5 separate regions of the Homo sapiens genome follow, and all the other regions are linked to region 5. The links are contacts of gene promoters, found by promoter capture Hi-C in blood cells and fetal thymus (Javierre and others, 2016). All regions are on one chromosome and are shown on one strand. Each heading gives the region's core, a stretch centred on a gene start or on the middle of the fragment in contact. The rest is flanking DNA. Distances are from core to core; before and after follow the strand shown. Region 1 overlaps RYR2 (ryanodine receptor 2). Region 2 has its middle 38 kb from the start of GPR137B. Region 3 overlaps RYR2 (ryanodine receptor 2). Region 4 overlaps RYR2 (ryanodine receptor 2). Region 5 holds the start of ACTN2 (actinin alpha 2).

The links. The method cuts DNA at HindIII sites, captures the fragments that hold promoters and counts their contacts. A CHiCAGO score of 5 or more calls a contact.
Region 1: a contact is called between a fragment that was not itself captured here and the fragment with the promoter of ACTN2 in region 5, in 1 of 17 cell types (M2 macrophages). The highest score is 5.2, in M2 macrophages.
Region 2: a fragment that was not itself captured here is called in contact with the fragment with the promoter of ACTN2 in region 5 in 1 of 17 cell types (fetal thymus); the score reaches 5.2 in fetal thymus.
Region 3: a fragment that was not itself captured here is called in contact with the fragment with the promoter of ACTN2 in region 5 in 2 of 17 cell types (M2 macrophages and M1 macrophages); the score reaches 5.6 in M2 macrophages.
Region 4: a contact is called between a fragment that was not itself captured here and the fragment with the promoter of ACTN2 in region 5, in 1 of 17 cell types (M2 macrophages). The highest score is 5.4, in M2 macrophages.

The regions. Positions count from the first base shown.
Region 1 is chr1:237,541,805-237,547,770 of GRCh38, reverse strand. The region is part of intron 25 of RYR2 (ryanodine receptor 2); the gene reads right to left. Among named protein-coding and RNA genes, the nearest start is that of MIR4428, 74 kb to the right of the region's middle. The HindIII fragment of the contact is 1,288 bases long and covers 1,451-2,738 here.
Region 2 is chr1:236,101,427-236,107,528 of GRCh38, reverse strand. No RefSeq gene overlaps it. Among named protein-coding and RNA genes, the nearest start is that of GPR137B, 38 kb to the left of the region's middle. The HindIII fragment of the contact is 1,535 bases long and covers 1,784-3,318 here.
Region 3 is chr1:237,417,806-237,423,294 of GRCh38, reverse strand. It overlaps RYR2 (ryanodine receptor 2), which reads right to left. Exons shown (of 105, transcript NM_001035.3): 12 at 47-203. Among named protein-coding and RNA genes, the nearest start is that of MIR4428, 51 kb to the left of the region's middle. The HindIII fragment of the contact is 491 bases long and covers 1,468-1,958 here.
Region 4 is chr1:237,577,892-237,583,381 of GRCh38, reverse strand. The region is part of intron 29 of RYR2 (ryanodine receptor 2); the gene reads right to left. Among named protein-coding and RNA genes, the nearest start is that of MIR4428, 110 kb to the right of the region's middle. The HindIII fragment of the contact is 1,466 bases long and covers 2,126-3,591 here.
Region 5 is chr1:236,682,038-236,687,902 of GRCh38, reverse strand. It overlaps ACTN2 (actinin alpha 2), which reads right to left and starts at 1,404. Exons shown (of 21, transcript NM_001103.4): 1 at 1,104-1,404. The coding sequence starts at 1,229. RefSeq lists a silencer at 1,459-1,548. The HindIII fragment of the contact is 13,171 bases long and covers 1-5,865 here.

The DNA.
Region 1 (5,966 bases), core at 845-3,344, 860 kb before region 5:
AAGGTATTATCGTAATAAAACAGGTATAAGTTGTAATCGTTGGAAGAAATACAAAGTTGAAAATATTAACTTTTCAATGCACACATATAAGGGCAATAGTACTGCCCTGCTCCACACAGACACACAGCGCTTCATTCTATTTAACTACTGAGATTGGCACAAAGCCTATTTTATAACTGCTTTTCTTCCATTCTTCTGTCACTGTTGTATTCTCCATTATTGACTATACCTTGAGGTCAGGATCTGTTTCTGATTCATTTTTCTAACTGCCATTATCCTTAAAACAGTTCCCAGCAGATAACAGCCTTTTCATATACAGTTGTTGAAATAATTAATTTCATTTACCAAATTAATATAAACATAAATGCATCTTCAACTCAAGAACGTTCACTAGGTAATTATGCTAAGTTACAAAATTAATTATTAAAACATGAGAAAATGCTTTTAAAAATAAATGTGAGAAAAGGCCGGGCACAGTGGCTCACACCTGTAATCCCAGCACTTTGGGAGGCCAACGTGGGTGGATCACATGAGGCCAGGAGTTCGAGACCAGCCTGGCCAACATGGTGAAACCCAGTCTCTATTAAAAATACAATGATTAGCAAGGTGTGGTGGCGGGTGCCTGTAATCCCAGCTATTCGAGAGACTGAGGCAGGAGAATCGCTTAAACCCAAGAGGCAGAGATTGCAGTGAGGAGAGATCACGCCACTGCTCTCCAGCCTGGGTGACAGAGCAAGACTCCATCTCTAAATAAATAAATAAATAAATAAATAAATATATATATATATATATATGCTTTTGAAAATAAACTACAAATTCTCTTAAAAATAGACTACTAATCTGGGCTATGACTGGCATCATTACAAGGCAAGCTCCTTGAAAGCAGGGAGTTTGTCCATTTTATTCACAGTGACCCCCCAGCACCTAGAATAGTGACCAATACATGGTAGGCATTCAGTAAAAATTTGTTGAATGAATCAATATATTACAGCAATAAATAACTTTTTTAAGGTTGAATACAGATGGCTTTAGCTTAGTTACTTCTATTTTACTATAATACATCCCATATATTGTAAGTAATTTATGTATAGGCTGGGCTTGGTAGCTCACTTCTATAATCCCAGCACTTTGGGAGGCCGAGGCAGGTGGATCGCTTGAGGTCAGGAGTTCAAGACAAGCCTGGCTGATATGGCAAAACCCCATCTCTACTAAAAAATACAAAACAATTAGCTGGGCATGGTGGCACCCAACTGTAATCACAGCTACTTCGGAGGCTGAGGCATGAGAATCGCTTGAATCTGGGAGGCAGAGGTTGCAGTGAGCCGAGATTGTGCCACTGCACTCTGGCCTGGGTGACACGGCGAGACTCTGTCTCAAAAAAACAACAACAACAACAAAAAAGTAATTTATCTATAGACACAAAAAAGTAATTTTTCTGTAGACAAAAGCTTTACCAATGTTTTGTTTTGAGTAGATTATAACAATTAGGACAAATTACTGATCTATGTCATTCAATTTACATTCATAAGTTAAATTTATGGACATTAAATTTTGTTCCATTTTAAATAAAAACTCTGTTTGTATGGGCAATTAACTGTAGCTTTTGTTTTTTAATAAAGAAGCCATGTGGGAATTTTTTTTAACAACTTCTATAAATCATTGTATTCGACAGACTTCTGACATTTAAATAGGCAAATCTATAAACTGTAATCACAGCTGAAGATATAAGTTCTTATTTGAAAAGTATTTTCTTTTATTTTAGAATATATAGATATAGATATATTTATGTATTTAAATTAAAAAAAACCCAAAACATTAATATATATATTTTACATATTATATATTTATGGTTTTGGGTTTTATTTTTGTTCTTTTTTGAGGCAAGGTCTCACTTTGTTGCCCAGGCCGCTCTTCAACCCCTGGCCTCAAGCAGTCCTCCTGCCTCAGCCTCCCAAATTGCTGGGATTACAGGCATGAGCCACCACTCCTGGCCTGGAAAGTATTTTTTTTTTTTTTTATTTTTCAAGAAAAAGCTCCCACTGCATTTCAAATGCACCAACAGGTAATCAAGCTAGCATAGTCTAATTTCCAAGTTTAACAGTTTGCTGGAGGCAGCCTCAGGGTACATGATGAAGAGCCCAGTCTTCTGTACTTCCTTGCTTCCTCACAACTACTTCTCACTCCCCACAACTGGCCCATGGTCACCCAGCACAAGCCAGCACACAATCTTCTTTCACTTTTCAGCAGCCTTGATCCCATCTAGCAGCCACAGAGGCCACACAGATGATGAAGTTTCGATATCCACCTGTGAATCACTGATCGGAGCCATTGCTACCCTAATGAGGGATACATGCATTCCCAAAGAGGAGTGATACTTTCTGGAAACCAATTTTTAATGGTAGACTTTCTAGCAATATCTCATGGAATGAGGAAGTACTTTTGAAAGGTGGAAGGTGGGAAGGAGGTCTTTCCCAATAAAAACTTATAGACAAGTTATGCTAATGTGCGAAGCTGGATAATATTGACAAAATCATTCCTCTTTATTTTCTACATTGTTTTCTTCCCATACAGATTTCTTCTAGAATTGCTTTAATCTGTGATCTCAATGAAAACTTATGGAGATGCATTTGCATCTGTTTAAGTAGCCCAATAATTTGTTCACATTCATCTTCAGATGTAAACTACACTTTTTTAACCTTCTTTCCTCTATAACCTTGTACGAGAAAGGATTTGAAGCTTAGAATTGTTTTTTTAAATGGCTAATAATCCCATCCAAATTATAGTTACAAACTCTCACTTCACCTGAACCTTTTTATTTCCACCTATTTTGAACAACAAATCATTTGTACAGTAAAAATAAACATGAACATCTATGAAATTCATGGACTTTAACTAATTATAATGGATAACACTATTGACATCATGAATGTTTCACCAGTATGAATTAATGGTAACAGCAATAATTTATGAAACGAATTTTCTGTTTGTAGTACATTCTGACAAAGGAGCTAAGAATCAAATTGTTATATCAAAATGAGATATATTTAAAAGTAAATAAGTACAGTTTGACAATGTTCATTTCACCTTATTAATACAATTTAATTAGGTACACAGAGGACAACCAACTGCTAATATGAATGATTATCTTCTTGTGGTTAAAAATGAACAAAGCCTTTGAATCAAATGTAATTGACATGAACCAGAAACTGAACACTTTCAAGTAAAATTTCAGATTGATTTCCAAAAAGTTAAAGTAAATAAAAGAAAAAATACTAAAATAACTCTTGGAAAGTAAAATTTTATAGCCACCAAAATGGGAAAAACTCCTATTATTATTATATTCATACAAAAAACATATAGCTCATATTAAGATGTCTCTGTATTACATTCTACTTTCTCAAACATCATGAGAAACTTCTGCCAGAATCAGCCGACAGACTTTTCTCTCCTCCAATTTATTTACTGAACAGGTATAAGTAGCTTTTACCCCCTTTCTTTAACATGCACATTCTCTGTGCCATCAATCATCCTATAAAATTAGCTTATGAGGAATATATATGAAATTAAACAAATGATTTAATATGCTCACTTTACAAAGTATCAAAATACTTTTATAGTTATTAGCTCTTAGTTTTATTTTGGCAACTACATAATTTAATAAAATAAAATAAAAAAGAATAAAACAACAACATTGAGAGTAATCAAATACCTAACAGTTTAGGCTTTGCTTTCCCGATAGCAAAATTTTTTTTAAATACCTCTGAAAACAAAACAAAACAACAAAGATCCTGGCCAACTGTCGATTCTATTTGCATCAAGTCACCAAAGATATAAACAAAAAATTGACAGTGTTTGGCTCCACTGGGGAATTTTCATGTTAAGTTGCAGCTCAGTTTTGTGCTTCATTCCCATCTGACCCACATTTTTCCTAAGCAGGTATTCCAGATGAGTCTTTGAAACAAGGGCTCAGTGTAATGTAATTAAAGGGCCAATTAAAGTGATTTAACAAAAACAAGGCAGAATACCAAAAACAGTAAGCACCAACCTTTTGTTTTTTTTAAGCCACCCCCACCTCCCAAGCTTACTTGTTTAATATGGATCAAGTTAAATGAAGCTTGGAAATCATTATATTGTGAAAGATGTACAGTAAATATGTAAAGGCTACAGCCAAGTTCAGGGAGTGTTAGCTGTAAATTTCAAAGCCAAATCAGCCCTTCAAGTACCTTGGAACAAATGAGAAATCTCAGATGACTGCACACCAGAGACATTAAGAGCAAGTTTTGCTGAAAGCACATCTACTAGAAACGAATACTAGGCTGACATTTTCACAGAAAACATATAGAGAATATTCAGAATCATTCTCCAGAAAACAAATACAGAAGGATTAATTTCCAGAAGGGAGAAAACAAGGGTTATATTTCTTCTACTTTTTTACTTTTGTTTGTTTTTAAATAAAAACATGTAATATGAAGATGTGCCCTACTCCCCTGACCCCAAACTCCTTTTTACTTGAAGGGCTTCCTACACCCCTCAGCCCCTTTGAAACAAGACCATGAAGTATCCACTGCTCTCAAGAAGGAGGCATTTCAAGAGAGAGAGAGGGAAAAAAAAGCTATACTTGGCTTTTGGATTTTAAAATGTCTTTGAATATTCAATGCAGAGACAAAGATCTTTATAGCAGGGCCTTGTGATATTAAAATCTCTGCTTTTGAATACCAAAGGAACAAAGCCCTTATGCCTTAGGACAGAAAAGAACAGATAAAGAACCCAGGGCCTCCAGTCTAAGATAGGCTGAAAATTCCAGAGCCTACAGGAGGGGAGAGTCAGAGGAGGCAAGTTCTCCCCAGCCTTCTGCCCAAGTGAGGACCAGATAGATCGCAGAGCCAAAGTGAGCTTCTATCTTGCTTCCTATATTGTACTCAGCCAAATGGCAGGGTCTCATAATTTCACAGATCCAAACCCATGAACAGTACAGATATGGTGACAAACTAATTCCAGGCTGATGGGGCTGTGGCAACCCTTCCTTCTCCCTCCACCAATAGGCTGCAATCTCCAAGCGGCCAGAGAGAGCATTCTTAGCTTTCCAGCACTCCTAAAGAGGCCCGGATGAGGCACGAGAAGGAACAGTGACTCACAGAGGGGAGGAGGGCACCCAATGTGAACCCAATATCAAATCAGTGCAGAACACAAACATCCTGTAAAATGCCAGCAGAGATGAATGAAGACAATTCAGTCGAAGACAGCAAAGTCAGATGAGAATGGCCAACGACTGAACAAGACCTCCCTATCAGGTGAGTACCCAGAACATAAGCAGCCCTGGTAATAAGAGGGGCATAAATCTTGTATTCAATTTCACCGTCAAATATTCATTCAGCAGTAGAATGCTTTCAGGTGCTATTCTAGGAACTAATAATACATGGGAGGCTGAGGCGGGCGGATCACCTAAGGTCGGGAGTTTGAGACCAGCCTGACCAACATGGAGAAACCCCATCTCTACTAAAAATACAAAATTAGCTGGGTGTGGTGATGCATGCCTCCAATCCCAGCTGCTTGGGAGGCTGAGGCAGGAGAATCGCTTGAACCCGGGAGGCGGAGCTTGCGGTGAGCCGAGATGGCGCCATCGCACTCCAGCCTGGGCAACAAGAGTGAAACTCTGTCTCAAAATAAATAAATAAATAAATAAATAAATAAATAAATAAATAAATAAATAAAGACAAAAATGTATACCTTTATAGAAATTATGTTTGTGAGGCCTCTGAGCCTAAGCCAAGCCATCGCATCCCCTGTGACATGCACCTATATGCCCAGGTGGCCTGAAGTAACTGAAGAATCACAAAAGAAGTGAAAATGCCCTGCCCCGCCTTAACTGATGACATTCCACCACAAAAGAAGTGAAAATGGCCGGTCCTTGTCTTAAGTGATGACATTATCTTGTGAAAGTCCTTTTCCTGGCTCATCCTGGCTCA
Region 2 (6,102 bases), core at 1,302-3,801, 580 kb after region 5:
GCTTTCAACAAGAAGCAGTCATCATGCAAGCTGGGAAAACATCCACCTGGCAGATGTAAACGCTGAGGTCCAGAAAGCAAAGGCTGGTGTATTCGATCATATACTATACGTGGATGAAAAACGTTTCAGTCTACCTCAAATTTAAAAAGCAATTTTCTGATTCTGGGAATCATGGCTTGGAGGCATTGTGATTCACCCTTGCAAATTTCTGAGAAATTAGTCGGTAGAGAGCAGAAAGCAAACGTGAGAAGATATAATTAAAGAGGCCAGATAGGGATAAAGGGCTTATTTACATCAAGAGTCTTTCAAAGAAAAGAGAAACCAAGCAGTCAGTTGAATGTTAAAAAAAAAAAAAAAAATTAGAAACAAGGCAAAGACAAATGACCATACCAGAGGAAGCAGATACATCAAAAAGTCAGAAAGATAATGAAAGATGAGAATCTCATTGTAGAGTATACAGGTTTAGATTAATTATCAAAAGCTCCGCACACACATTTGGAGAGAAAAAAGAGAATGCAAATTCAGAGAAAACTCAAAGTCCTCAGTTATTTCCTTCCCATCTCCCTCAGCCTCAGTTTCCCCATCTTATGAAACCAGATGACCTGTAAGGCTCCTTTCATATCCATATTTGTAATTCTACAAAATAAATAGCTGCATGAAGATCTTTTACTTCTCAGTTTTTATCTCCAAAATTTCGTAGCCAATTTTTGTAGAGAAAATAAAAATTACATATGAGCAAGAAAGGCTAATTAAAATAATCTTACCACCTAGAGATAGCCACTGTGAATATCTTTATGTATATTCTTCCCTATTCATATAGGCATACATAGAAATAATTTTGTATAAATTTTATTATGGCCTTTTTTTTTTTTTTTGAGATGGAGTCTCGCTCTGTCGCCCAGGCTGGAGTGCAGTAGCGCCATCTCGGGTCACTGCAGGCTCCGCCCCCCGGGTTCACGCCATTCTCCTGCCTCAGCCAAATATTGCAAGGATGTTTTCTTGTCTTGGTTTCCTTTCCACACCATTGTCTGTGACCGCTGCCAGGTATTTTAGTCTAATGAAAGTATCGGTATAATATTAGTTGCAGTGAAAATGTGTGTCCAGATTGGAAAAGATGAAGAAAGCTGAGAAAAACAACATTTTTCCTTGCATGATGCCTTCTACTTTACAAAAGACTTGTATAAAAGCTTTGTATGGGAGGCCGAGGCGGGCGGGTCACGAGGTCAGGAGATCGAGACCACGGTGAAACCCCGTCTCTACTAAAAATGCAAAAAAAATTAGCCGGGCGTGGTGGTGGGCGCCCGTAGTCCCAGCTAGCTACTCGGGAGGCTGACGCAGGAGAATGGCATGAACCCAGGAGGCGGAGCTTGCAGTGAGCCGAGATTGCGCCAGTGCACTCCACCCAGCCTGGGTGACAGAGCAAGACTCCATCTCAAAAAAAAAAAACCAAAAAAAAAAAACAACTTTGTAATCAGCCGGGTGCAGTGGCTCACACCTGTAATCCCAGCACTTTGCGAGGCCCAGGCAGGCGGATCATTTGAGGTCAGGAGTTGGAGACCAGCCTGGCCAACACGGCGAAACCCCATCTCTACTAAAACTACAAAAATTAGCTGGGTGTGGTGATGCATGCCTGTAGTCCCAGCTACTTGGGAGGCTGAGGCAGGAGAATCACTTGAACCCTGGAGACAGAGGTTGCAGTGAGCCAAGATCACGCCTCTGCATTCCAGCCTGGGCGACAGAGTGAGACTCCATCTCAAAAAAAAAAAAAAAAAAAAAAAAAGCTTTGTAATCTACAAAGTGTTTTTACATCTTCTCTTAAGACTGCCCAACTAGCAGCGTCTAGCATATGGGTAGTGTCAATAAGTGTTATTAAATAAATGGGAAATCAAACAAATATGCATTATCATATGTATCCTTATGAAACTGGGATTTGGTAGGCCTCATTCTCATAATTTTATGAATGTTTTAAAGCTGCATCTATTACCTTGATAAAATCCATTATAATTTACATAGTATCCACACAGACCGATCTCATTTAAGCCTCCCAGCCACTCTGTAACTAACTAGGGTAGATAGCATCAGTCTCATTAAAGAGAGGCAGAGGCTGAGGTGGAGATAATCAGGGTCAGATAGTCAATCAGCGGAAGAGCTTGACCTTAGACTCAAACCCATGACACTTTCAACTGCTTCCCGACTGTGACCAAATGTCCCGCCCCACCTTTATTTAAGCAGTTTGTGCTATAGTGAGGCAGAGTCACCAGCATGCAGGTAAATGTTTAAAGTTCAGCTCTGGGGGAGTGGAGGGAGCCCTGATTTGTGGAGTTCGCTGATTTCTCTGGTGTGAATACTGCCACATGGCGGATTTGAAACTACTGACACAACGTCATGGTGTCATTGTGTAGAGACGTGCACAATCAGCTCAAAGGTGCTAGCTGGCTCCAACGCATCCCTGGGTGGAATGAACTTTCTTTCCACCTGATCGTTAATTCCTGGAGGCCAGGAACCACATCTCTTTGCAGTTTTCACTGTGCTATGCACACAGACGGCAGTGCATCAGCGTTCGGGCTCAACATCAGGGTTCAGCCTGGGTTTCCCATTCTCTGGTTTCCTCACCTGCCAGCCCTCTTCCCCTGGACCTGGGGAAGTACTTGGAGACAATCCTGCCCCCTTTACCATTTCCCTTTCCTTCCTCTCCATTCATGTCCCGGTCACAGCCTGAGGCAGAGTCATGGGCCCAGTGCAAGAAGAAAGGCCATGGGAACCTTAGGATCTCGTGGGGTTTTGTTTGTTTGGCTTTTTGTTTGTTTGTTTGTTGAGACAGGGTCTTACTCTATTGCCCAGGCTGGAATGCAGTGGCATAATCACAGCTCACTGCAGCTTTGACCTCTACGGCTCAAGCACACCACTATGTCTGGCTAATTTTTTTAATTTAAAATTTTGTTCTAGAGACAAGGCCTCGCCATGTTGCCCAGGCTGTTGGATCTCATGCTTTGTGGTGTTTTTTGTTTGTTTGTTTTTGAGATGGAGGCTCGCTCTGTCGCCCAGGCTGGAGTGATCCAGCAAGCTCACTGCAAGCTCCACCTCCCGGGTTCAGGCCATTCTCCTGCCTCAGCCTCCCGAGTAGCTGGGACTACAGGCGCCTGCAACCACGCCCGGCTAATTTTTTGTATTTTTAGTAGAGACGAGGTTTCACCGTGTTAGCCAGGACGATCTCGATCTCCTGACCTCGTGATCAGCCCGCCTCGGCCTCCCAAAGTGTTGGAATTACAGGCGTGAGCCACCGCGCCAGGCCGCTTTGTGGTCTTTTAAGACCAAGCTTAGAGTCTTCTTCCTGTCCTGGAGTTCCGGCACTCACCTTCTCAAGAAGCTTGGGCAGCTGCTTCCATGGGGGCCAGTGGGAGGAAGAGAGGGAGCAGATGGGAGACGGCTCTGACCCTCAGTACCGCAGGGCCGTTGCTTCAAAACTGAACTGGCACAAAACCCATCAACTGTTTGGAAACCAGGATTCCTGGCTTCTGGTTTTACTGCCCAGGGCTACAACTCTTGGGGCTATTTTTCTTGCCAGACATCTTACTGGGATTTTCTGCTGTGGAGAGCACCTCGTGCTGGTCTGCGCTGATAAAGAAATGTCATTTTCTGGAGGGTTGGTTGATGTGCGGATCTTGAAACAACGAAGAGCGCGCAGGGAGGCGGAGAAAAGACAGACTTTGGCGCCATCTACTGGAAACTTCTGTTTCTGCATGATGTGGATGAATTGGATAAAACTGACAAAATGGAAATTGTATGTATATTCTGTTCTTTGATACATGATTGATGTCGAAAATCTCTTATAAGAAGAAATATAGAAAACATATATTTAATGAATCATGAGTTAAATTCTAACTTCTCCTCTACTAAAACTTCTATCAAATCTGCTGTCAGGCAAAAATGGTTGAATTTTCATTCTACTCCAACCCACCCTCCCTTACAAATACTGTGCTAATATTCAGCAACATAGCAAGGACTAGAGAAGGGACAACAGCCAAAACAAAGGCTGCGCAAGTCCACTGGCCTGAAAATCAAGTCCAGAGAAAAGGGAAAGTGATTCTACCTGCAAACCAACCCAGCCCCTTGTCTGAGGAGGGGGTGGACAGGTACCTCCAGCAACTTCTAAAATCAAGTGACCACAGCAAAACGGAAACAAGAAAAGATGCACCAGCTGCAGTCACCGCCGAGCCCCTGCTTAGCGGCAGCTTTGCTGGAGAGTGTCTCCCTTTTGTGGGGTGGGGCCAGAGCCTCAGACACCTGGTGTTGGGGGCAGATGCCTTCCCTCATTCCAGCTTCACCTTCGGAGGCTGATCTACAAAGGCCAAGCCCCAGGCCGCTGGGCTTCATTTCCACACCAAAGAGCAGAGTCAGCCATGCCTCAGGCTGCTTTCTCTCTGCCACGTTTAAGTTTTAGTTCATTCAAATCCATCTTCAGCAACTTAATTGCCGTACAGTATTTCAGCACACTGAAAAATAACCTTTTCTCACACCGAAAGCACTAGACCTGTTTTTTCAGTGCTGTGATTTGTTGTCTGATATCATTCAGAGCTTTTCAAAAGCTGCCGCCGCTATCATCTTGCAACGGCCTGTGAAGTGGGTGGGAAGGTGCTGCTCCTAGTGCCAAGAGGGGAAACTGAGGCCCCTAGAAGGCTGAGCGCGTCCCGTCACCGCGCACGGCCCCTCCAGTGCCTCAGCCAGGTTCTCAGCCTCTCTGTGATGACTTGCAGACCAGGGAGGTTGACCTCATGTGGAGTTCCGGGTGGGGCCACCCTCACCAAAGCCTGCAGGGAGCTGCTGTCCCACCCACCCACCCCAGGCTGCCGGGGCAGGTGTTTCTGGGGCTGAAAGCAGAAATGTAGGGGAGAGAAAACACCCCCAAGGACTCTGTGGAGAACACTGAGCTGGGGGGTGGGTTGATACGAGTTCACCAGTTATATACATTTTAAACAGAGACGGGGCTTCGCTATGTTGACCAGGCTGGTCTCGAACTCCTGGGCTTAAGGAATCCTCGTATCTTGGCCTCCCAAAGTGCTGGGATTACAGGTGTGAGCCACCGTGCCCAGCCTTCACCAGCTATTTGTTGAGCACCTACTGTGTGCTGGTGGCTTCGGGAAGACAACGACAGACCGGACGCTGTGTTGTCCTCAGGAGACGTCCAGTTAGAAGGAGCAGAGACAATGGTACAAATAACTACCATGCAAGCAGGAAATGGCCACTGTGCAAGATGGGCTGTGCTAGAAGACCTCAGAGCAGGAGCGGCCCTTCCACAGGCGGGAGGGACAGGGGAGTGCTTGGGGGGCCTTTAATGGGCCTCCGAATGGGAGAGTAGGTGTGAAAATGGTTTGGGATCAGATAAATTCTGTGCCCACACACTCATGCACACTCATGCACACTCACACTCCCCACACTCACCCACGCATACACATACACCCACATAACACACATGCACAGCCACATTCACACACACAACACCCACATAACACTCTCACACACACTCAGACCCCACACACACACTCACATAGCACTCACACACACCACACACTCATGGACACTCACACTGACACAACACTCACCACACTCACCCACGCATACACATACACCCACATAACACTCACCCACATGCACATCCACATTCACGCACACAACACCCACAAACACCCACATAACACTCACACATACACTCACACCACACACACACCCACGTAACACTCACCCACATGCACATCCACATTCACACACGCAACACCCACAGACACCCACATAACACTCTCACACAAACACACTCACACCACACACATAGCACTCACACACTCATGCACACTCACACCCACATAACACAACACTCACCCACACTCACCCACGCGTACACATACTCACCCCCACATAACACTCACCCACATACACGGCCACCTTCACACATACAACACCCACAAACACACCTACATAACACACAAACACACACACCACACACTCACATAGCACTCACACACTCACACCCACACAACACTCCCATGTACCCACATGACACTCTGACACATATACTCACACACACCCACAGAATTACATTTACATACA
Region 3 (5,489 bases), core at 464-2,963, 740 kb before region 5:
TGACCGGGTAACATTTATAGGAAACCCAAAATATTTTCTGTCTCACCTTGGAAGACCGGAAGGTAAATGCTGTTGATTTTACATCAGCTTTCTCTTTGTCCATGAGTAGAAGGTTTTTGTCTTCCATGAGACTCAAGTATTTTCCTGTTGTGACATGGCGTAGTCGGAATGGCTGTCCCCATCTTATGTGGCTTCCACTCCACCTAATGAAAACAGTTAGGACTTGATCCAATAGCACCCACAATCACAGAAGGAGTAGCTATTAAAACATATGTCGGACAATGAACAGTCATATATATTGTCTTAATGTTCTCAAAAAACTTAGGATATTAGTGATATTAATTTCATTTCACAAATAACAAAATGGCTATTCAGAATGATAAGTAATACACAAAGTCGCAAAGCTTATAGTAAGAAGAAGTTAAATGTAACTCAAGGTGTTCTGACTTAAATGCCGTACCATCCACACAGCGCCCTATTCTATGCAAAGATAACAAAGAACTTGTGCTCCAAGTCACCCTCTAATACAGATTAGTCAAGCTCTAATGCAAATAATGCAGGAAGTATAACTCCAAGTAATATTTTAGCATTTACTAGTTAAAAACTGTTGCTGTATTTGCACAGACTTGAAAAACAGTAGTATTGTGGTCAACGTCTAAGTATGATTAATTGGAACTCATATATATAAACTGAAGTCTATAGTTAGACTATATTTACCTGACAAAAGAAATGTATTCTTATACTTTACATTTTAATATTGTGGAACAATTATATTATTAGAACGCGATGAACAAAAAAGATAAGCCAAGAAAATGAAAATTCTAAAAAAGTCAGGAAAAAATGTAATAAACAGAAAATATAGAATGTTTCAGTAAAATGATAAGTTATGATCATTAAAAATTTGCTTTGAAGGATACTGAATGTTGTTAATGCGCAGAAATGATAAACGTTTGAGATGATGGATATGCTAATTGATCTGATCACTATACATTACCTGTATCAAAACATCACTATGTACCCCATAAGTATGTACGATTATCACTTGTATATTAAAAATAAATAAATGACTTTCAGGTAGGATAAAATAGAAAAATCAAAATACAAGCTGTTCTTGCTTTGCACATTACCTTGTTAACTGAAGGTTGTGTATTTAGGAGCTTTAACCATGCTAAGGTGCAGAGTGATGGCACAGTTCTATCGTGCATGACTTTCCCTTAACACCGTACCATGCAAAGTGAGGACAGGCCATATATATCATTGATAAGACACAAGCTTAAGATCAAAGCACGCAAGAAAACTAAAAACGAATGAGTAGAAAAGATTCAACAAGCAAATAAACCTCAAAAGGAAATGACAAATTTGATATTAGATAATTCCAATTCAAGGCCAAAAAGCACAAAAGGTATACAGCCAGATATGTTATGAAGAAAAAGTGTATACTCTAAAAATAATGAATGTTGTAAAGCTTCATATGTCAACAACAAGCAGAAAATGAAACATAAGGATAATTTTTTAAAAGACAGTTTACACTGGATGATTTTGTCAAAATACAATGAGTCAAAGAAAAAGTAAATATATGGAGATTTTCAATATAATCTTATTATTTAATAAACTTGGGTTCATACAGACTTATTAAAAATGTTTGTGTTCTACAAATTGAGAGTACTTGGTTCAAAGCTAGCAATCTTTTAGTAAATTATAAATCAATTTAATGTTGTTTTCCTAACCTGGATTTTTGACTTGAGATGTTAGCATAGAAAATTAGCAGTAGAATGTTATAACAAGTTCATTTTCACATGAATTTGTTTATAAAGACAATTAATTTGGGAAGCCCCCCAATTAAGTTAATAACCGTATACTAATAAAACCAGATAACACGGTATTGTCTTAAGATGAAATTAAAGTTTGTTACCAATAATAGCACATTAAAGTATTTCTATTTTGGAAATAAACAAGCTTTTTAAAATCCTCCTCTTATAAAATTAAGTGTATTGTTTGCAAATACTATGAAAACCACAATTATCATTATTATTATTATTACTATTATTTTTATTTTGAGACGGAGTCTCGCTCTGTCACCCAGGCTGGAGTACAGTGGCGCGATCTTGGCTCACTGTAAACTCCGCCTCCCGGGTTCAAGCGATTCTCTAGCCCCAGCCTCCCGAGTAGCCAGGACTATAGGCGCCAGCCACCGCGCCCGGCTAACTTTTGTATTTTCAGTAGAGACGGGGTTTCATCATGTTAGCCAGGATGGTCTCGATCTCCTGACCTTGTGATCTGCCCGCCTCAGCCTCCCAAAGTGATGGGATTACAGGCGTGAGCCACCCTGTGCCCGGTCACAATTATGTTTAATATTTGTTTCCATTATTTGAAAAACAATGAAATATTTGGAAATATGTTTAATATTTGTTTCCATTATTTGGAAAAACAATGAAATATTTGTAAATAATGAATCACTTCTGAATAACAATTCATCTTAATCATCATGGAACACACCTTCATTTTCAAAACAGCACAAAATTTTAACCAGATATATACTATTTGCTAGCGTATCTGGAAGATGTTCTGGGCTCAGTTCTATTCAATAGAACTCATATGTACCAGTGCTCCTTTGAAGTCTCTAAGAGGATTCTGGTAGAAATGGAATGAATGTGGCCAGTTTTTGGCAAAACCACTGCATAGTCTAAGTCTAAGCACATTTGCTTTCATTTCCAGCCACTCAAACTAGCCTGGTCTCACATGCCCAGACCCCCACCTCCTCCCAAATGAGAGGGCAAGGCAAGAAAATCATATGTAGTAAAAACTAAAATTGGCAATAGTAATGGAGTTTTATAAAGCAATTTCCTATGGTAACATCAAAAAACTGTGCCCTACGTATTATCGATATTTACTCAAAATTACCTCAAAGGGAATTGGGGAATAGTGAGTACTTCTTTATGATATGTCACCCTTTAATTTTGTTTATTTGCAACATAAAAAATAGAACTTGAACTCTATGTAATTCATAGTTTTTATTTCCATGAGTATTCCTATTACAGGAACTAACACATATCTCACTTACAATATCCCTATAATTTTGCCTGGAGTAAAATATAGGAGAGCATTTTCTATTCAATTTAACTCCCTACATTAAAACCATTTATTAAAAAGGCCATGATACTGAAAAACTTTTGACAATAGTTTCATGTGTAAGAGTATGCAGTATAAAATATATAATGAATGGGCCACATCAACTACAACAAATATATAGTATAGGATCTCACTGGAGAAAAGAGAAGACCGAGTATCCCAAATATTGAATATAAACATTGGCATTAGGCAATATAGTTCTATCACAAACAAAAGCAGGATCTTCACTATAAATTGCTAAATATAATGCAAAATTAGTAATTATGTGGCCATTGCATATAAGACATGTAAACTTCCTAGAATGAAAGGGATTTAATTAAAAAAATAAAAGCTCCTAAACTGAATGTAGCTTAATTTACATATCTACAATAAAGCCAAAGTAGTTTAAAGAGTCAGTATAATCTGAAAAACTTCTTAAAATAATGATATTCCGTACATATGAATCTCCTACTTTCCTACTGCTAGACAGGAAGGTGAAATTTAATCAAGGGTCAGAGAGAAGAACAAAACATCTCTCTTTAAGCTGCTAAATGGTTGAAAAACTACCTGCTCTGCCTTCTCTGTGGTATTCCCCTCAGTGACATCTGGACTATGAGAAGCAAGTAGCATTCCCTTTCCCCAGTGGCTGACCATAAGATCATCTCCTTTCTATATATTGATTATCTGTAATCAAAGTGAAAATAAACTCCAAACTTCTATTTCAAAATACAAACATAAGCAACAGTAGAGAGACAGGATCAAGACTACTTAATTCAGAAGTTTGAAGAATAATCTAGATTTATGTAGTCACAGCTCATCAATAGTATCGATAACAATAAAAACAAAGTCCTATCAGGTTTTCAGAAGCTTTCATGTTTTTTTTTTAACCAAAAATAAGACAGATGTAGGGTCTCTCTCTACAAAAAAGATAAATATTTCTTTAAGCACTCAATCATGAAGTATAGGTATGTCTCTAAATTTTGAAAACACATATTCAATCTGTTTTACAAGGTCAATACAACCTCTCGAAACTGCACTTATAGTGACAATTTAATTACATATATAATTAGTAATTATGTATACAATTAATTTGTATAAACACTTCTTTACTCTTTCATTTTTATAATACACAATGTAAAAAAATATGAGTAATACTTAAAATCCCTTTCCTTAAATTATCTGAATAATCACAAAATATATAAAAGCTATGAGTTTTCCTTTGTTTGCCTTAGAAGTCTGTCTCTTCTTTTTCCATCTCATTATGATATGCATTTCCAATAAAAATTTTCTTTTAAGTTTGGTAGTTACCAAAAGTTTTAATATTTAGGTAGATTTGATCAATTGTGCATTTATATCAAAGACATTTAATGTTTTCAATTAGTTATTAATGACAATATAGAAGAGCTTTTTAAAGTTACAGACTAACATAAGAAATATAAGAAATAAATTTATATAAATATTTTTGTTGCAGAGGAGTAGGATGTAGTGAAAAGGAAAGACTGAATAATATATATTTTTATTGTTAAAGAAGACCATTTTCAATAAACAAAGGTATTAAACCACAGCATTACTTACAGTCAATTGGATACTTTGAAAAGGGTGATGTAACCATTTTATTTTAAAGTATCACTATTTAAAATACACTGGAAGTTATATTCTATGCATCTAAACTGATAATGAAAGGATTTCTATGTCAACCTCACAGTGTTCAAGAATGGACAAAGTTTTTCAAAATCATTGCATGGGACACAGGAGCAGAAACGACTGAAGGCCTCTAAACTATTCTCATCACCATTAGACAGGCAATAATCTCAAAATAAAATGTCTATAAAGGTAGTTATACTAGGCCGAGCGTGGTGGCTCACACCTGTGATCCCAGCACTTTGGGAGGCCGAGGCTGGTGGATCAGGAGGTCAGGAGATCGAGACCATCCTGGCTAACACGGTTAAACCCTGTCTCTACTAAAAATACAACAAATTAGCTGGGCGTGGTGGCAGGTGCCTGTAGTCCCAGCTACTCGGGAGGCTGAGGCAGGAGAATGGTGTGAACCCGGGAGGTGGAGCTTGCAGTGAACCGAGATCGCGCCACTGCACTCCAGCCTGAGTGACAGAGCAAGACTCCATCTCAAAATAAATAAATAAATTAATTAATTAAATATAGTTATACTAGAGTAAGATAGCCCTCATTCCCACCCATAGAGTCTGTTATCCTAAATCAATAATGTCTTTAAAGCCCAATACAAATCAATTATCATCCTAAATCAATAAAGTCTTTAAAACCCAATATACTAGGAAGTAAACACATTGAAAATTTACTGCTTTTAGGCAAAGGACTAAAGCTTCGAATTATTTTTAAAAATTTTAATTCTACTTAAAATAGTT
Region 4 (5,490 bases), core at 1,609-4,108, 890 kb before region 5:
ACAATCTACAAAATGGGAGAAAGTATTTGCAAACTATGTTTCTGACAAAGGTCCTAATATCCAGAATCTATAAGGGACTTAAATAACCCAACAAGTAAAAAACAAATCACCCCCATTTAAAAAATGGGCAAAAAAACATGAACAGATACTTTTCAAAAGAAGACATACAAGCAGCCAACAAACATGAAAAAATGTTCCCATTGCTAATCATCAGAGAAATGCAAATCAAAACCACAAAGAGCTACCATCTCACACAGTCAGAATGGCTATTATTAAAAAGTCAAAAAAGAACAGATGCTGACGAGGCTGTGGAGAAAAGAGAATGCTTATACGCTGTTGGTGGGAATGTAAATAAGTTGAGCCACTGTGGAAAGCAGTTTGGAGATTTCTCAAAGAACTTAAAACAGAACTACCATTCAACCTAGCAATCCCATTACTGGGTATATATATATATATATCCAAAAGAAAATAGATCATCCTACCAAAAACAGAAACACGCACTCATAGGTTTCATCCCAGCACGATTCAGAATAGTAAAAACATGGAATCAACCTCAGTGCCCATCAACAGTGAACTGGATAAAGAAAATGTGGTACACATACATCATGAAATACTATGCAGCTATAAAAAAATGAAATCATGTCCTCTGCAGCTACATAGATGCAGCCAGAGGCCATATCTTAGCACCCAGGAACAGAAAGCCAAACACTGTGTATTCTCACTTACAAGTGAGAGCTGAACACTGGGTACTCATGGACATAAAGATGGATGGCAAAAACAGAAACTGGGGACAACTGTGGTGGGGGGACAAGGGTTGCAAAATTATTGGGTGCCATATTCAGTATTTGGGTGAAAGTATCAATTGTACTACAAACCTCAGCATAACACTATATACCCAGGCAACAAACCTGAACATATAGCTTCTGAATCTAAAATCAAAGTTGATTTTTTTTTTTTTTTTTAAAGAATGCTAGCCAGGCACAATGGCTCACTCCTGCAATCCCAACATTTTGGGAGGCCAAGGTGGGCAGATCATCTGAGGTTAGGAGTTTGAGACCAGCCTGGCCATTGTGGTGAAACTCCATCTCTACTAAAAATACAAAAAAAAAAAATTATCTGGGTGTGGTGGCCAGTGCCTGTAATCCCAGCTACTCAGGAAGCTGAAGCAGGAGAATCGCTTGAACCCAGGAGGTGAAGGTTGCAGTGAGCTGAGCTCATGCCACTGCACTCCAGCCTGGGCAACAAGAGCAACACTCTGTCTCAAAAAATAAAATAAAAATAAAATAAAAATAAAAAATAAAGAACTCTGAGAGGGAAGGTAAAACACAAACAAACAGAAAAACACTTGCCTTTGATTTCTGGAATCTTAGAACTGAACTAGACAAGAAGAGATCATCTCTAATTTGTGTTTTTATTTTAAGGAAATGAAAACAGGCTATTTGCCCAAGGCCACACAAGAATCATTTCAGAATTGGGTTGTACTTGGATTCCTCTGCTATAGAAGTTGGCCTCACAGTCCTGATTTCTTCCTTCCTCTGACAAGTGTTGATTTTTAATTAAGGAGATTCCCAATAATAAGTTACTCTCCCAGGTCTGTATCATGATAGCAGGTTGCACAGAGGATGCTGGTGACAGGAACTTCAGCTGTTATGGTAAAGCCAGGCAGGTGGGTTTGGGGATGGTACAGACCTACTAACCTTAATTCACACCATGTTGAAAACCAGACTTCTGAATAAGCCACCCATTTCCATCAAATAATCTAACTGCTGCAATATTTCAACTGAGGGTACAAAGCATACTGTAGGAACAAACTAGTAGTTCTATATCCTGGCTTCTTTTTTTTTTCTAAAACAGCAGCATGATAAAATCAATAATGGAAAGTTTTCCCTGCCTCTCTTTTTTATTTTCTTTTCTGTCTACAGCTATACAGCTATTTTAATTACAAAAATAATCTGGTTTTCTCCCGAGGAAAGGAATTCCATGAGTTCTGAGAGGACCAGGAATTCAATTTTACTCACACTCCTTTCAGGTGGCAAATACAGACTCAAAAGTATTGTTTCTGGATTTGATTATAACCATCATGGGCCTCTGAGATGATCTTTACTTGCAGAATAGCTGAGAAGCTTGAAATGGACAACACAAGATACGTATCCACAGCAGACACTGTAGAATGTGGTAATCTCCAAACATAAATAACCGTTCTTTTACCATAAACTATACATCAAGATTTTAAGTGACTCTCTCACTTATTTTTAATTAAGGATATGGTTAGCTCTTCAAACTACTGATAATATAAGGCTGTTCCCGTAAGAATAAATTGAGAATAGTACTAGCTTAGTAGGGGATGCAAGAGTAGAAGGGGTGGTGTATTGGTCAGCTCAGACTGCCATAAGAAATGATCACAGACTGAGTGACTTAAACCACAGAAATGTGTGATCTCACAGTCTGGAGGCTGGAAGGCCAAGATTAAGGTGTCAGCAGGCTTCGTTTCTCCTGAGGTCTCTCTCCATGGTGTGTAGATGGCAGCCTTCTGGCTGTATCCTCACATGGTCTTTTCTCTGAGCACAGTCAACCCTGGTGTCTTCTCCTCTTCTTATGAGGACACCAGCCATACTGGATTAAGGCCCCACACTATTACCTCATTTAACCTGAATTACCCCTTTAAAGGCCCCATCTCTAAATACAGCCACATTGAGGGTTAGAGCTATGCAACTCAGTCCATAACAGGTAGAATGGAGACACGGTTTGTATTCAGAACGCTGTATCTGCCAGCAGACACATGTCCACCAAAGCCATGTGTGTGGAGCCCCAAGGAACCCGGAAATCATCCCTCATTAGAAGAATTTGAATTCTACTTTATGGGAAATTCATTTCATTACCCCTTAAGGCATTTCTTCATTTTTTTTTTTTTTAAAGCATTGTTGGGGCCTGGCGCAGTGGCTCACGCCTGTAATCCCAACACCTTTGGAGGCTGAGGCAGGCGGATCATCTGAGGTCAGGAGTTTGAGACCAGCCTGGCCAACATGGTAAAACCCCATCTCTACAAAAAATACAAAAAATTAGCCAGGCGTCGTGGTGTGTGCCTGTAATCCCAGCTACTCAGGAGGTTGAAGCAGGAGAATCCCTTGAACCTGGGAGGTGGAGGTTCCAGTGAGCTGCGATCACACCATTGCACTCAAGCCTGGGCAACGAGAGCAAAACTCCGTCTCAAAAAAAAAAAAAAAAAGAATTGTTGTGATTTCACGTGGCTCTGGAGGAGCCAAGCAGAAGCAGAGTGAGATGTGCAGTCTTCCTCACAGTCGTAAGAATTAGCCCATAGCGCCTAAGTTCTTTCAGCAGACAAGCACACGCTTCACATCAGAGAAGACTCTGTGCATGGTTTTCCCTATGCCGTCAATATGCTGGGTAAATCAGATATCATCTGCGTTTCTTCACTGACATTCCTTTGTCTTTATTGTTTTTTTCCAACTTTATTGTTGCTGGTTTTGTTTTGCTTTCCTTACACTGAAGTTTGAATTATGTACATATTCGGTATGATATATTCTGTAAGGGAATCTGGAGTTTATACTATGTGATAGTTAAGAACAAGCTTTGGTAGAACAGGTTAACAACCAAACTGAAGAACAAGTGAAGAAGGGAATACATTTAGGTGAGCATATGACATGTTAATTAATTACTGACTTCATTTTAGGGAGATTTAGTATAATTTTAATACAAATTAGGTTTAATATAGGAGCTCAAGAATGCACTTTTTTCCTATTAAATTAATAATAGTTTTTTGACCCATGGAAATTTGCCCTATGAGTGTGCTTTAAGAAGTAAATTTTCCCCCAGTGCAGCAGCTCACGCCTGTAATCCCAGCACTTTGGGAGGCCGAGGCAGGTGGATCACCTGAGGTCAGGAGTTCGAGACCAGCCTCACCAAATGGTGAAACCCTGTCTGTACTAAAAATACAAAATTAGCCGGGCATGGTGGCGCATGCCTGTAATCCCAGCTACTCTGGAGGCTGAGACAGGAGAATCGCTTGAACTCAGGAGGCGGGGGTTGCAGTGAGCCAAGATCACGCCACTGCAGTCCAGCCTGGGCAACAAGAGTGAAACTCTGTCTCAAAAAAAAAAAAAAAAAAAAAAAAAGAAGAAGAAGAAGTAAATTATCCTCACGTGGCAAGGAAGAGAGCACAAGGCAAAGAAAAAGTACAATTTATTATTAGCTGGTATTTGGGACTCAAGTTCTGATTTTTTAAATTGGTGAGCTGGGCTTAGATCATAAATGAACTAGAAGATTTGCTTCTGTTTCTCCAGAGACTTAGAATGAAAGGCACTGGTTGGCCTTCTTAGTTGTGTTTTGTTTCTTTTTTTTTCCCTCTAAGCTGATATCTGATTCTCAGTCCTTAAGATGTTACTATTCTAATGGTACAAAAGAACAGGGAGAGATAAACCCAACCCAAGAGGTCATCAAGGAAGAGACCATTTCTCCATGTGGCCAGGACCATCTTAAGCCATTCACTGCAGGACTCTTCTGTTCCCAGAGGTCACAGACTTATCCCAAAGATGCAGGCAGGAAGAGACACTGAGGGAGCGTACATGCCCCCACTCCCACCACCTTATCAAAACTGCAGAATGGGCGAGAGACACTGAGGGAGCGTACATGCCCCCACTCCCACCACCTTATCAAAACTGCAGAATGGGTGAGAGACCTTAACAAATCTCCAAAATTACCCCCAAAAGAGGCATTGCAAAATAAGTCTCCAAAAAAATAATACCTCCAAAAGGGGCATTGCATCAACTCTAGTTCAGAAATCTTTTGAAAGAAATTCTCTTGTGTAGGCTTATGTTAGAAGATGGAAGGGAGACTTCCCTTTGGAAATAGGCTTCCAGAGAAGGCGGCAATGGGAAGCACCAAAGGACTATGTAGGATATGAGGCAATCAAACACTAGGGAGTTGGAGAAGATAAAGAAATACAGAGAAGCCATTCATTCAAAGCCGTTCATTTTGCTTGGGGAGTTCCCCTACACATACAAAGCACCCTGCTCATAAAAGAGAGGATACTACTATGACCTGTACCTGAGCCATTTTTTTTTCTGTGCTAAAATGAAAAAATTGTCTCATTTCATCCACTTGTGCTTGAGATCACACCCCCCTTCACCTTATCAGGAACATGAGTAATTATCTCCTCTCATACTTATACCTTTATCATCAATTTCTCCTCTTCTTACTAGATCAGTCCCAAAAGCTCTACAGACACAATCCTGTTTCTTCTTTAGGAATTTCAGAACAGGTGTGGTGGCTCACGCCTGTAATCCCAGCACTTTGGGAGGCCACAGCAGGCAGATCACCTTAGGTCAGGAGCTCAAGACCAGCCACCAGCCTGGCTAACATGGTGAAACCCCGTCTCTATTAAAAATACAAAAATTAGCCAGGCATGGTGGCATGTGCCTGGAATCCAAGTTACTTGGGAGGTTGAGGGAGGAGAATTGCTTGAACCCGGGA
Region 5 (5,865 bases), core at 155-2,654:
GGTAGACAAGAGACATCCTGATATAAAAATAGTGCTTGGTTATTTGATAATCATCTCTCCTTCCAGCTAACGCTGTTTGCTGCGAGAGGAGTTTGGGATGTGTGTTCTCCACCATCATACCCCTATTCACCAAATACTATCGCACAATCAGCTACAGTACCCATTATACAGAGATTCCCATACACACTATGGTCACCACAGGCTATCCACCTAAAGCAGGTCCTTAGAAGGGAAATCTATCTTGCCCCACGCCCAGAAAAATAGGCGGAAAAAAGTTCAGAGCGTTTGGCTTTTGCCATAACCCCGTTATCTTAAGGTTGGGTTGGCAGGTCTCTGTTGTCATGTCTGACCCAACCAGGCTCCCTGCCTAGTCAAGTAAGAGGCGGGATTAAGCCTCCTGGTGAGCATTCCCTATTTATTCCAGCCAAGAGGATCAAGAGGAAACCTTGAAAAAGTGGAATGTTCCACTGGGCCCCCAGAGAACGCCAATCAAAATGGGGAGGGAGCTTTTAGAAGCTGGCTGACTCCTTCGTCCCTGTGTGCTTACCTCAATGAATTATAAATAGAGTGTGAAATAATTGTCACTATCGGTAAATGTCTAGTGTTCATACAACATCCCTCTCCAAGGAACCCAAAAGATTGAATAAATGACTTTCCATGACTCTAGGGGCAGCCCGGTGGAAATTGCAATGAAGCTGATGTTCTTTTGCTTCTTTCAATGGGGAAGAGAGAGGCTGGGGTAAATGGACACAAGCGGGCCAGGAGAGTATAACTCGGGGGCCAAGGTCACAGACTCAAGGGGTCAGGAGCAGACCAGAGACCCCTTCAGATCTGGTCTAACGCGGGTTGGTGTGAGGAACAGAACCACATCTGTACCTCCGATGCTGCTAGCGCGCGCGCACACACACGACGCCCAGTGTCCTGCCTGTCCCCGGACGTGTCCTCTTTCCTAAGGGGCCCCCGGGGCTGCGAGGGCACAGGACAGCACAGCACCTCCACAAAGCGCCCTCTCGCCAGTCGCCAGGCCACGCGGCCACGCGCACGGGAGCCCCGCGGGGGACCCGGCCCCACCACGCGCGGGCGGCCCGCGGGCCCCTGCTGACCTTCCTCTGCTGCTTCTCCCAGGCTGGGTCCAGGAGCAGGTCGCGGTCCCACTCCTCCTCCTGGATCATGTACTCATCCTCGTCGTACACGTAGTTGTACTGCACGCCGGGCTCTATCTGGTTCATGGCGCTCGGTTGGCCGGGGCTGCGGCGGGGCGCGAGGGGCTCGGACGCACGGGCTGACTGGCAAACGGACCCACGGAGGCGGCGGGCGGCGGGCGGCGGGCGCGGGGTGACCTTCGCGCGGCTCCTCTCGGGGCGACACGCCTGGGCGCTGGGTCTCGGGCGAAGCACCAGCTCCGGCTGCGAGCAGCTGCCGCGCGGCTTAATAGCCGCGCCGCCCGTCACGTGGCCGCCCGGCCACGCCCCCGCCGCCACCGCCCCCGGCCCCGCCCGTCGGGCCCCAGCCGCCCCGCCCCGAGCACGTGCGGGCGGACAAGGGCGCCGGGCCCCTCCACTGTCTCCCCTGCAGCCGCCGCCCAGAGGCCGCCTGCACGCCTTCCGCCGAGGCCTCCGGGAACGTGAGGGGAGCGGCCGGCCCCGAGCAGAGCCACGCCTGCCACCCACGCTCTGAGAGCGGCTGGTTAGCGGCGCGGGGTCCGTCGGTGTCCCGGGTGGGTGATCGCGAGCCAGGGGAGGGACACCTAAGAGGCTGGGTCCCTGACCACCCCAACACAGCCAAGTTTTCCAAATATCATTTGGATATTCGCGTTTTCCATATATTCCCACATATTCATTGGAGACCCCTCTTCTCTCTCTCTCATCTCTCTCTCGTGCCTCTCTTTCCGCTCATCGGTCCCTCTCTCTTGTGTCTGTCTCTCGTCTGTCTCTCTCTCATCTCTGTCCCTCTTTCTCCAGTGTCTCTCTCTCATAGATCTCTCTCATATCTCTCTCTCATCTCTGTCTCTCCTGTGTCTCTCTCACATGTCTCTCTCTCCTCTCATCTCTCTCTCTCTCTCGTGTCTCACTGTCTCTCATCTGTCTCTCGTGTCTCTCTCCTCTCCTCTTCTCTCCTCTGTCTCTCTCTCCCGTGTCTCTCTCTCTCTCGTCTCTCTCTCTCTGTCGTGTCTCTCTTTCTCTCTCTCATCTGTCTCTCTCTCCTGTGTCTCTCATACCTCTCTCATCTCTGTCTCTCTCTTCTCTCTCTCTGTTTCTCTTCCTCCCTCTCACACACACACACACATACATACATACAGGCCCCTAAGGAGTAAAGTTTAAAAGCTACAGAACCCCCCTCTTCTTTCTCTCCTCCTCACCCTCACCTGGGGAAATCAAGGCACAGGATTTGGATCCATCCTATTAAAATGTTAGGAACCAAACCAAAGGCAGGAAGTGTCAGCTCTCACCTACCGGGCATAAATTTAAGAGAGCTGACAATGAAGGGCAAGCGGCCAGCTTCGTGTTATATTTCCATGTCGCCCTGTGGGTTGCACTTAACGCCTTTTCATCCCCCTAGTGCTGGCTAGCTGTTCCCTATCAGTTATGCTGCCGCAGGAAGCAAAATGAGGACCCTTGGGACAAGTAGGCTGAAATTTTTAAATCAAATATGTATTAAGCAACTACTGTAAACCAGAGGTTGCCTTAGGCACCAGACGAGCTGATGGGATGCCTGCCTGCAATTCAGTTTATATCTCAATTGAATAAACGTTGCCCACAGATGCTACAGAATTTTTTGTGATTCAGGGCTACTAATTTGTGGACATGTTTCAAGTTGAGTTTGTCTGGATTTATCATTGTTCCTTAGAATTTTTACATCACTCACCGTTACTGTTTGGGGCTTTATGCAGAAAGATAACAATTAGCAAACAGGTTGCATTAACTTTGTTTTGTTTTGTTTTGTTTTGAGATGGAGCTTCACTCTTGTTGCCCAGGCTGGAGTGCAAGAGCACGATCTCGGCTCACCGCAACGTCCACCTCTCCGGTTCAAGCGATTCTCCTGCCTCAGCCTCCGGAGTAGCTGGGATTACAGGCATGTGCCACCACACCCGGCTAATTTTGTATTTTTAGTAGAGACGGGGTTTTTCCATGTTGGTTAGGCTGGTCTCGAACTCCCAACCTCAGGTGATCCACCTGCCTCAGCCTTCAAAAGTGGGGATTACAGGTGTGAGCCACCACGCCCCGCCACATTAACATTTTCAAAAACATTCTCACTAGGATGTAAATTCCTCAAACGCAGGGATTTTGTCTCGTCCACAGTTGTAGACCCCAGCAACTACAGGCGTGTCCACCGCACAGTGGTGCTCATTTGTTGAGAGAAGTAGTATCCCTGGAAATAGTGACTGAGCTAATTTACTTGGATTTAAATTTAAAATTTAGAGTTTATATTTTGGATTAAAATCATACTCTTGAAACAAGTGGATCAATAAATTTTACCTATTAGAAACTGGGCCGGGCACAGTGGCTCAGGCCTGTAATCCCAACACTTTGGGAGGCCGAGGTGGGTAGATCACCTGAGGTTGGGAGTTCAAGACCAGCCTGGCCAACATGATGAAACCCCATCTCTACTAAAAAAAATAAAAATAAAAAAATTAGCTGGCTGTGGTGGCATGCACCTGTAATCCCAGCTACTCAGGAGGCTGAGGCAGGAGAATCGCTTGAACTCAGGAGGTGGAGGTTGCAGTGAGCAGAAATTGCGCCACTGTACTCCAGCCTGGGCGACAAGAGCAAAATTCCATCTCAAAAAAAAATAAAAAAAGAAAGAAAGAAAAGAAAAGAAATTGGATGTACAATTACAAAAAGTGCTACATCGTTCAACTTAGTTTTCAAAAATTAACGTGGGGACTTCATGAGATGGAAAAAACAGCGCCAGATTTACCATCCTGCCTGAAACAACTAAAGCCTGGGGAAAAAAACACATAAAACAATGGTTTTCAAGACATTAGTCATCAGGCAAAGAGGGACAATGAACCCTCAGAGGCAGAAAATAAATGATGTGAGTACTGCAATTGCCCCAGCTTACAGTCTGGAGAAAACTTTCAAGATGCAATGCAACAAAGAGGTACCCAGGCACAGCTTACTGGTCTCCATAAACTGAGAGTTCAGAGAGACCAAACATTAGAATTTGCAAGGCCAATTACAGCAGAAAATGGAGCTGCAAAGAGAGAGAATCCTGGAGATTTGCTGTTCCCTGGAATCTGATCAGTGAATACATGAGAGGAAACTGCCTGAGGCCAAGGAAAGAAGGTCCCGAAAGGAATAGAAGGAATGATTCTTAAATTCATAACGGGCCAGGAATAGTTCCTGTTTCCATCAGCCAGGGTGGAAAACCTTATAATCCACAAAGCATCAGAGTACTCCAACCTGGAGGGAAATTAGCTCCTGATGAAATATTGTACTTGTCCTGCCTGCAAAACCTGAAAAGCATGACCTGAAAATCGTAATTTCCAAGTAACTTAACCATGTCCCAGATCAAAGCTCAAACATATCTATAGGAATATGAAAACATTCAACACTCAAATTTTACCCAAAGGTAAAATTTGCAATTTCTGCCACCTGTGAAATATTACCAAATTTTTCACAGGTGTGCAAAGAAGCAGGCACATATGATCCATAATGAGAACAATCCATCAATCAAAACTGACCTAGAATTGACACAGATGATAGAATTAGTAGAAAGGAACATTAAAAGAGTGATTATTGCTATATTCCATATATTTAAGAAGCTAGAGGAAAGATTGAACCTGACAAGTAGAGACAGAGGAGATATGAAAAATTTAATATCTAGAGATGAAAACTACATCTGAAATTTTAAAATACACTAAACGCGTTTGCCTATAGATACTGCATTAGAAAAGATGAGTGAACTTGAAGGCATAGCAGTAGAAAAAAATCCAGTATGAAACACACAGAGAGAAAACAGGTTTAAGAAATGAGCACGGCCAGGCGCAGTGGCTCACGCCTGTAATCCCAGCACTTTGAGAGGCCAAGGTGGGCGGATCACCTGAAGGCAGGAGTTCAAGACCAGCCTGGCCAACAGGGTGAAACCCCGTCTCTACTAAAAATACAAAAATAGCCGGGCACGGTGGTGGGCACCTGTAATCCCAGCTACTCGGGAGGCTGAGGCAGGAGAATCGCTTGAACCGGGAGGTGGAGGTTGCAGTGAGCCGAGATCGCACCACTGCACTGCAATCTGGGCAACAAAGTGAGACTCCGTCTCAAAAAAAATAAAATAAAATAAGAAATGACCAGAGGATCTGTGAGCTGTGAGAAGCCTTCATGCAGCTTAGTATCCAAGTAACTGGAGTCTCTGAAGTGGGAGAACAGGAAAAAAAAAAAAAGTACTTTAAGAAGTAACAGACAAAGTCAAGAAGTTAGTAAGGGGACTTCCACTTGTGGCGAAGGTGGAGTATGGGGAACTGGGATAATTCTTCCTGAAACAACCACTGCCTTCCACCCGCAGGACTGGAAAAAACTGATCATTCACAGAGCACTGAGTAGAATACTTAGGAAGGTCTTGCCTCAGCAGTGCCGAATGATTAGTCCTAAATAGAGCACTGCTCTAAGCTGGTTAACCAAATCATAAAAACAAGACCCAAAAGATTAAAACCATTTCCAAGTAACTGCATCACAAAACAAAGCTCAAGAATATTTATAGGCATACAAAAATATCCAGCACCCAACAAGGTAAAACATCACAAAACCTGACATTCAATACAAGATTACCAGGCATGGCGGGGCGTGGTAGCTCACACCTGTAATCCCAGCATTTTGGGGGGCTGAGGCGGGTGGATCACCTGAGGTCAGGAGTTTGAGACCAGCCTGA